Regions from separate parts of the Homo sapiens genome. Here region 1 is linked to region 2. Evidence: promoter capture Hi-C in 16 types of primary human blood cells and fetal thymus (Javierre and others, 2016). All regions are on one chromosome and are shown on one strand. The core of a region is centred on a gene start or on the middle of the fragment in contact, and the rest is flanking DNA. Distances in the headings are between cores, read along the strand shown.

Region 1 (3,926 bases), core at 55-2,554, 250 kb after region 2:
TCATTTAAAAGTGTGTGGCATCTCCCCCACTGCACTCTCTTTCTCTTTTTTTTTTTTTTAAAAGACAGGATCTTGCTCTGTCACCCAGGCTGTGGTGCAGTGGCACAACCTTGACTCACTGCAACCCCCACCTTCCGGGTTCAAGTGATTCTCGTGCCTCAGCCTCCTGAATAGCTGGGATCACAGGTGCGCACCACCACGCCCAGCTAATTTTTGTATTTTTTGTAGTGACGTGGTTTAACCATGTTGGCCAGGCTGGTCTCAAACTCCTGACCTCAAGTGATCTGCCCACCTTGGCCTCCCAAAGTGCTGGGATTCCAGGTGTGAGCCACTGCACCTGGCCCCCTACTCTCTTTCTCTTGCTCCTGCTCTGCTATGTGAGATGTCTGCTCCTGCTTCATCTTCCACTGTGAGTAAAAGCTCCCTGAGGTCTCCCCAGAAGCTGAGCTGATGCCTGTGTCATGCTTCCTATAGGCTGCAGAACCATGAGCCAATTAAACCTCTTTATAAATTACCCAGTCTCAGGTATTACTTTTCAGCAATGCAAGATAATACACACACATGCAAGGGCTAATACACACACACAAACACACACACACACACGCAACTGGTGGAGAGTGACCATTTGGTAGAGGCAGGAGTTAAGTGAGCACGCCAACCCCCAAACCAACAGTGATAAATGTCATGGGAATGACACAGCGAAGGTTGCTGCCTAGGCATTAGAAGCAGAACCACACACCCAAATGGTTCAAGCAGGTGACCAGAGGTAAGAACTTAGAAGCAGCTCTCTCACCTAGCAGCTCCCCACTTTTCCTGCTGCTTCTGTTTAATGGACCATTCAGGCATTTGTGCATGAACTTAAGGTGACCCACATCCTATTTCCTTATCTATACTCCTGGGCTCTGATGAGCCTCCTTATACATACTGTCAGTTGCTGCCTCTCTCTCTGTCTCTCCCTTTCTTTCTCTCTCTCTCTCTCTCTCTTTCTGCCTGACCCTTTGTTCCTGCTTCGTGTGAGCCAGGGACAGGAGACATCCTCCTGACTCACTGTGCCTTCCCTGCCCAGGATCTGAAAGTAATAAATCTTTCAGCTTGTTTCTGATTATGGTGTACTGCGCCCTCCATCTGAAGAACCAGGGGCTACCCCAGGCGGAGTTTTCCCTGGGATGCCAGGGAGAACACAAGGTCAGGATCCTAGCATCAGAGCAATGGGCAGGCAGGACATGGGTCAGACAAGGGCCACCAGGTGTCTGCCAGTATAAACAAGTTTCCCAGTGAGGGACACCTGGTCATGGATCAGACAACTAAGCAGCAGGCTGTCCACAGTTAGAAGTAACGAAAGGCACAGTGTAAACACCCACATCCTGCTCCTGCTTATTTCGTGTTAGGGCGGTGTTGCTAGGCACTGTGGTACCGGACCCCCAATTTAGCTGGGGGCTTTCAAAACAGTAAAATACTGGATTTAAAAAAAATACTTAAAGGCCAGGTATGGTGGCTCACACCTGTAATCCTAACACTTTAGGAGGCCAAGGCAGAAGGATTCCTTGATGCTGGGAGTTCAAGACCAGTCTTGGCAACATAGAGAGACTCCATCTCTACAAAACTTTCTTTTTTTTTTTTTTAATAAGTTGGGCATAGTGGCATGTGCCTGTTGTCCTAGCTACTCCAAAAGCTGAGGCAGGAAGATCGCTTGAGCCCAGAGGTTCAAGATTACAATGAGCTATGATCATGCCACTGCACTCCAGCCTGGGCAACAGAGTGAGACTCTGTGTATTAAAAAAAAAAAAAAAATCAAAACAAAACAAAACAAAAACCCCAAACTTAAAGATACTGGAAATCAGACAGAAACCAGAAGAGTTTTATTTATTTTTTATTTTTTTCGAGACAGGATCTTGCTCTGTAGCCCCAGGCTGGAATGAATTGGTGCAAACACGGCTCATTGCAGCTTCGACCTCCTGGGCTTAGGTGATCCTCTCACCTCAGCCTCCTGAGTAGCTGGGACTACAGGCCCATGCCACCATGCCTGGCTAATTTTTGTATTTTTTGTAGAGATGAGGTCTCGCCACAATGCCCAGGCTGGTCTTGAACTTTTGGGCTCAAGTGATCCTCTGGCCTCAAAGTGATCCTCTGGCCTCAAGCTCCCAAAGTGCTGGGATTACAGGCATAAGCCACTGCACTCAGCCATAGTTGTTTTTTGTTTTTTGAGACAGGGTCTGGCTTTGTCGCCCGGGCTGAAGTGCAGTGGCACAATTGCAACTCACTGTAGCCTTGACCTCCTGGGCTCAAGCCATCCTTCCACCTCAGCCTCCCAAGTAGCTATGACCACAGGCGTGTGACACCACGCCTGGAAAATTTATGTATTGATTGATTGATTTTTTTTCAGAGACAGGGTCTCACTGTTGCCTAGGCTGGTCTCAAATTCTTGGGCTTAAGTGATCCTACTGCCTCGGCCTCCCAAAGTGCTGGGATTACAGGCCTGAGCCACCACACCCTGCCTCAGAAGAGTTTTAAACTAAAACTAAAATCAAAACAAGCAAACAACAAGACAGTTCTGGGCATGAGCTGCTTTGCTCCACTGACAGTTCAGCTGTGCCTACGTGAAGCAAACCCCTCAGGGCCTGGTGAAAGAGTCTTCTCTTGAAAGACAGCTATGCAGAACAAGGGCTGTGGGTCTGATGCTCCTTGCCTCAAACACATGCATCTTGGGTTTCAAAAAGCTGAAGTTAAGGACAGAGCACACAGCAGGCAGAGCGGCTGGAAATTAGGGGAATCCCTAGAAGCAAGGAAGTCACAGCCACGATGAACCCCATGTCTGCCCAAATACTTGGCTAGCCACCAAATCTGGCAGGCAGAGGAAAGACCTGTGGGATCAGGCTTAAAGCAATAGCGGGTCACAAAAAGAACAGATATCAATAACTACACTGTGAGGGATGTGAAGTTTGCAGATTGAATCCAGACAATTAACTGCTTACTGGAATAAAAATCCAAGCATCTTTAGAAGAACATGACAGAATCCAAAGTCACTATAACATTGTATCTACAATATCCAATGTTCAACCAAAAGTTACTAAACATGCAAAGAAACAGGAATATGTGATCTCTATTCAGGAAAAGGGGCAAATAGAAATTGATGCTATGCGGGCCCAGATGTTTGATTTAGCAAAGACTTCCGAGTAGCTATTATAAATATGTTTAAATAATTGAAGGAAAATATACAATCAATGAAGAAATGGAGAATCTCAAATTAAAAATAAAAACAATAAAAAAAAGGCCGGGCGCGGTGGCTCATGCTTGTAGTCCCAGCACTTTGGGAGGCCGAGGCGGGCGGATGATGAGGTCAGGAGATCGAGACCACGGTGAAACCCTGTCTCTACTAAAAATACAAAAAAAAATTAGCCGGGCGCGGTGGCGGGCGCCTGTAGTCCCAGCTACTCAGAGAGGCTGAGGCAGAAGAATGGCGTGAACCCGGGAGGCGGAGCTTGCAGTGAGCCGAGATCGCGCCACTGCACTCCAGCCTGGGTGACAGAGACTCTGTCTCAAAAAAAAAAAAAAAAAAAAAAAAAATAGAATAAATAAATAAATAAAATAAAAAATAAATAAAAATGTAATCCCAGCACTTTGGGAGGCTGAGGTGAGCAGATCATCTGAGGTCGGGAGTTTGAGACCAGCCTGGCCAACATGGCAAAACCCCATCTCTACTAAAAATACAAAAATTAGCCAGGTGTGGTGCACACCCATAATCCCAGCTTCTTAGGAGGCTGAGGCAGGAGAATTGCCTGAACCTGGGAGGCAGAGGTTGCAGTGAGTCAAGATCATGCCACCGCACTCTGGCCTGGGTGACAGAACCAGAATCTGTCTCAGAAAAATAAATACATAAATAAAAATAAAAATAGAAATCCTAGGCTGGGATGGTGGCTCATGCCTGT
Region 2 (4,010 bases), core at 504-3,003:
TAAGGGTAGGGAGAGGTGGGGCAGGGGCTGCTCTATTTGTGATAATTTCTATGGCCTTAAGCTCCATATTTCTAAACAGCACTTTTAAATAGCATTCCTTGATTTTTTCAAATCTATGAGGCATTTTCCCAGTTTTATTGTTTTCCCCGGGGCTCTCCCTCCTGGTCTTCTCTTCTCCCCCAGCTGAGACTAGTGGTCCCCAGTCCTGCAGCATAGCTATTGTCCTGGGATACTCTTTGCCATCACCTTCAGAATTCCTCGTCTGCTTCTTGTGTTAGACCCTGCTTCCCCGATCCTATGCCTTCCGTCTTCTCAGTTTACCCTCTCATCTTTGTGGAACACAGCTTTGAGTGGCTTTCTGAATGTTTCGAGTGTTTGCATGTCTGTACCTATCTTTTTTTTTTTTTTGAGACAGAGTCTTGCTGTGTCGCCCAGGCTGGAGTGCAATGGCGCGATTTTGGCTCACCGCAACCTCTGCCTCCTGAGTTTGAGAGATTCTCCCACCTCAGCCTCCCGAGTAGCCGGGATTACAGGCATGCGCCACCACACCTGGCTAATTTTTGTATTTTTAGTAGAGACAGGATTTCGCTATGTTGGCCAGGCTGGTTTTGTACTCCTGAACTCGTGATCCACCCTCCTCAGCCTCCCAAAGTGCTGGGATTACAGGCGTGAGCCACCGCACCCGGCCATTTCTTTTTTTAAATAGAAACGAAGTCTCACTGTTTTGTGCAGGCTAGTCTTGAACTCTTGGGCTCAAGCAATCTTCCCACCTTGGCCTCCCAAAGTACTGGGATTATAGGCATGAGCCACAGATCCCGGGTGAGATTTATCATCTTGAACCATGTCTCTTGCTGTCTTGTCTCATGTCTCTTGATGTCATGTTGTCAGTCAGTCAACCAAATAACCAATTATTGATCAGTCAACATTTGAACAATTACCTATGTTCTGGGTGTATGTTCTCTGGAGGATACAAAGGTTAATGTCCCTGATTTTGAGGATCTACTCTCTCTACACAAAACACATAGGAAAGTTAACCACACAAAACAATCTAGGGTCAGTAACAAAATTCTTTTTTTTTTTTTTTGAGACGTAGTCTCACTCCGTCGTCCAGGCTGGAGTGCAGTGGTGCAACCATGGCTCATTGCAGCCTGGACCTCCCAGACTCAAGTGATCCTCCCACCTCAGCCTCCCGGGTAGCTGGGACTACAGGCATACACCACTATCACACACACCTAATTTCTAAAATTTTTTGTAGATACGGGGGTCTCATCATATTGGCCAGGCTCATCTCAAACTCCTGAGCTCAAGAGGTCCTCCCGCCTAGGCCTCCCAAAGCGCTGGGATTACAGGCGTGAGCCACATTAGGTAAATTCTTAATGAGTAAATTCAGGTGGCTGCCCTGGTGGAGGTGGACCGTTGGGTGCTCGACCGCCCAGAGGGCACAAAGGACCAACACGGTGGGGGTGGCGAGAACTGGGGCCGTAGAAGCCAGCCTAGTCCTCCGCCCTCGCTTTCCCTACTGAATATGCGCGAGGGGGAAACTCCAGCCTAGTTGTTGACTTTCTGCTTCGGACATGCTCGCGTGTTCTTGGCTCTCCTCTTCCGGACAGAGGCGCCGGAGCTTCATCCGTTCCGGGCTTTGCCGCTCACCGCCTCTCCCTTCCCAGGCCGTAACCCGCTTCCGCGTTTTACTCGGTGCCCGCAGCGCCGGGGCGTGGAGGCGTTAACGCGCACGCGCTTAGGGATCCGGCCGTGGCCGAGCGCGCGGCCGTAAGACCGCGGGTGAGAGCAGCGTTGGCTTCGAGGGGAGTGGCGGGCCGTGGGGATCGCGGCCGTGGTTGGGACGGCCGGGGGTCTCGGCGAGGGCTTCAGGGCTCCCGGGGCATGCGGGGGCCCGGGCTAGGGCCGGCTGCCGGTGCTGGTCGGGCGGGGCGGGTCGGGCCGGGGGCGGGCTGGCAGGGGCCGCGTCTGGGCCTCCGTGACGCGGACGCCGAGCCCTGCCCCAGGGAGCGGGAGGCGGGAGGCGGGGGCCAGGCGGCTCCTCCTCGTCGCGAACTCTGGATGACCTTGGCCAAATCGCTTCAGTTCCCCGAGCTGGCGACTTCGTCTGTAAAATGCGAGTCATAGCCCTGTCTCCTAGATGGGCCGTGTGGAGGCTCAGTGGCGGGAACGCCTGCGGGGCAGCCGGGGTCCTGGGCGGTTTGCTAGGGACGCCTCACTGGGGGTGAGGGTGAAAGGGCTTCCACGGGGATCATTTTGTCACAGGCTTTGTTGGGGGGGCAGTTTTCATTTTTATGTAAACAACTCTGGAATATTACGAAGTACTTAACAGAACTTTTGTTTCGCACAATACGAGAGGCTTGAAGAAGTGGAGCCCTAGCTGGGATTCGCTTTTTTGAGGCCGGCGTTGCCCTGCCCTTTAGGGGTGCCCACGCTCTAGCTGCGGCCCCGGCTCCCTTCGCATTGTCGTTAGAGGATGGTGTGAAGCAACAGAGATCCTTAGCTTTCAACGAATTCATATTTGTGATTTCCTGTTTGTCAAAACCCTTCCTGCCCACCTAGGAAGTGGTGCTGGCCAAGCAAGTTTACTGTCTGTCCACGCGAGGTCTTTCTGAACCTTGGGGTCGGTGAGCTCTCCCGTTAGGTAATTTCAGTTCGCTAGAGGTTGAGTATGGGACAACTCGTGGCACCATAGTTTTTTTTTTCTTTTTTTTTGGTGTTGGTGTGGGATTCCACGAACCGTCCCCACCAGAGGTCTGCCGTGAAATGGATACTCAATAGGAATGATAGTAGGTTACAAAAGTAAGCATGTTAGATGGTGTAGATTGGGAGAAATTTAGGATATTGGAATTGACCTAAACTGAAACTTTTCACTGCAGGTGACTAGCATGCAGATACCCATGCTCTGACTTTCTGCCCCTCCACTGACATGGCCCACCGGGGTGGGGAGAGGGACTTCCAGACTTCAGCTCGACGCATGGGCACCTCGCTGCTCTTCCAGCTTTCAGTGCATGAACGGGAGCTGGACCTGGTTTTTCTGGATCATAGCTATGCCAAGCCTTGGAGTGCCCACCCAGATGCCAGTAGTGCCCGCCCCACCCGCATGCTCTTTGTCACTCCCCGGCGGCAGCACGAAAGTACCATGTGAGTTGGGGCTTCTAAGGGCTGCTGGTAACCTCACTGGGCAGTGATCAGATGGGAATTTAGAGAGGATTTTCTCAGGATTGACTGGGGGAGATTGTATGAGGCATTTGGATGTTAAATTCAGGCATCTCTTAAGCAGCATAAGGATAGCAGGCTTGAATGTGGCTATCTCTGTGAGACAGCTAACAAGAGTTAGGAAAGCAAGACGTGCAAATGAAAAGCAGACAACCTATTCCACTTAGATAGTAGGACGTGTGGAAAGGGGAAAATCGTAGAGGGTTATTTAACTGGTGAAGAAAAAGACTGAAAAGTTGATTTTAAAAGATTACCCACAGGATACGACTCTTTTATCACATTAGTCCAGTGCTCTGGGTTGCTTGACAGTGGCAACAATAGCCTTTTTATAGTAATGCATTTTGCTTTTCTTGGTTTCACACACGAAGGTTAGGAGCCAATTCCCAAGACGTTGCTTTTTCTCTTCCCTTGTTACAGAGCTGCTATCCATAGGTTAATCTAAACCCTTCTTATGTCTAATGATATTTTCACCCAGCCTATGTTATAGGGTAAGGAAGTTTCATAAATTGACTACCTGATGAGTGATACAGTTACATTTGGTCTAAATAAACCTGTTTGCCAGTTCTTTTGCACTTTAAGGCATTCTAATTATGTTTCATGATGTGTTGATATATTCCGTTATGGTGATCAAATCATGTCCTTAATAATTTTGTAAACTTTTGGAGAAGAGTTTTGTCTGTTTGTTTTTAATCTGACCTAATGTTTAATCTTTCCTTAAGCACTGGTTTTAATTTTGTTGGGGGTTAGAGCCCTTGTAGAGGCTTCTTTAGAGTCACCCCTCCTGGAATTGA

The links. The method cuts DNA at HindIII sites, captures the fragments that hold promoters and counts their contacts. A CHiCAGO score of 5 or more calls a contact.
Region 1: a fragment that was not itself captured here is called in contact with the fragment with the promoter of KANSL3 in region 2 in 1 of 17 cell types (activated CD4 T cells); the score reaches 5.5 in activated CD4 T cells.

What each region holds. Positions count from the first base shown.
Region 1 is chr2:96,388,768-96,392,693 of GRCh38, reverse strand. No RefSeq gene overlaps it. Among named protein-coding and RNA genes, the nearest start is that of NCAPH, 55 kb to the right of the region's middle. The HindIII fragment of the contact is 6,592 bases long and covers 1-3,926 here.
Region 2 is chr2:96,636,055-96,640,064 of GRCh38, reverse strand. It overlaps KANSL3 (KAT8 regulatory NSL complex subunit 3), which reads left to right and starts at 1,753. Exons shown (of 21, transcript NM_001115016.3): 1 at 1,753-1,782; 2 at 2,880-3,144. The coding sequence starts at 2,930. RefSeq lists a silencer at 1,824-2,033 and an enhancer at 3,984-4,010. The HindIII fragment of the contact is 21,308 bases long and covers 1-4,010 here.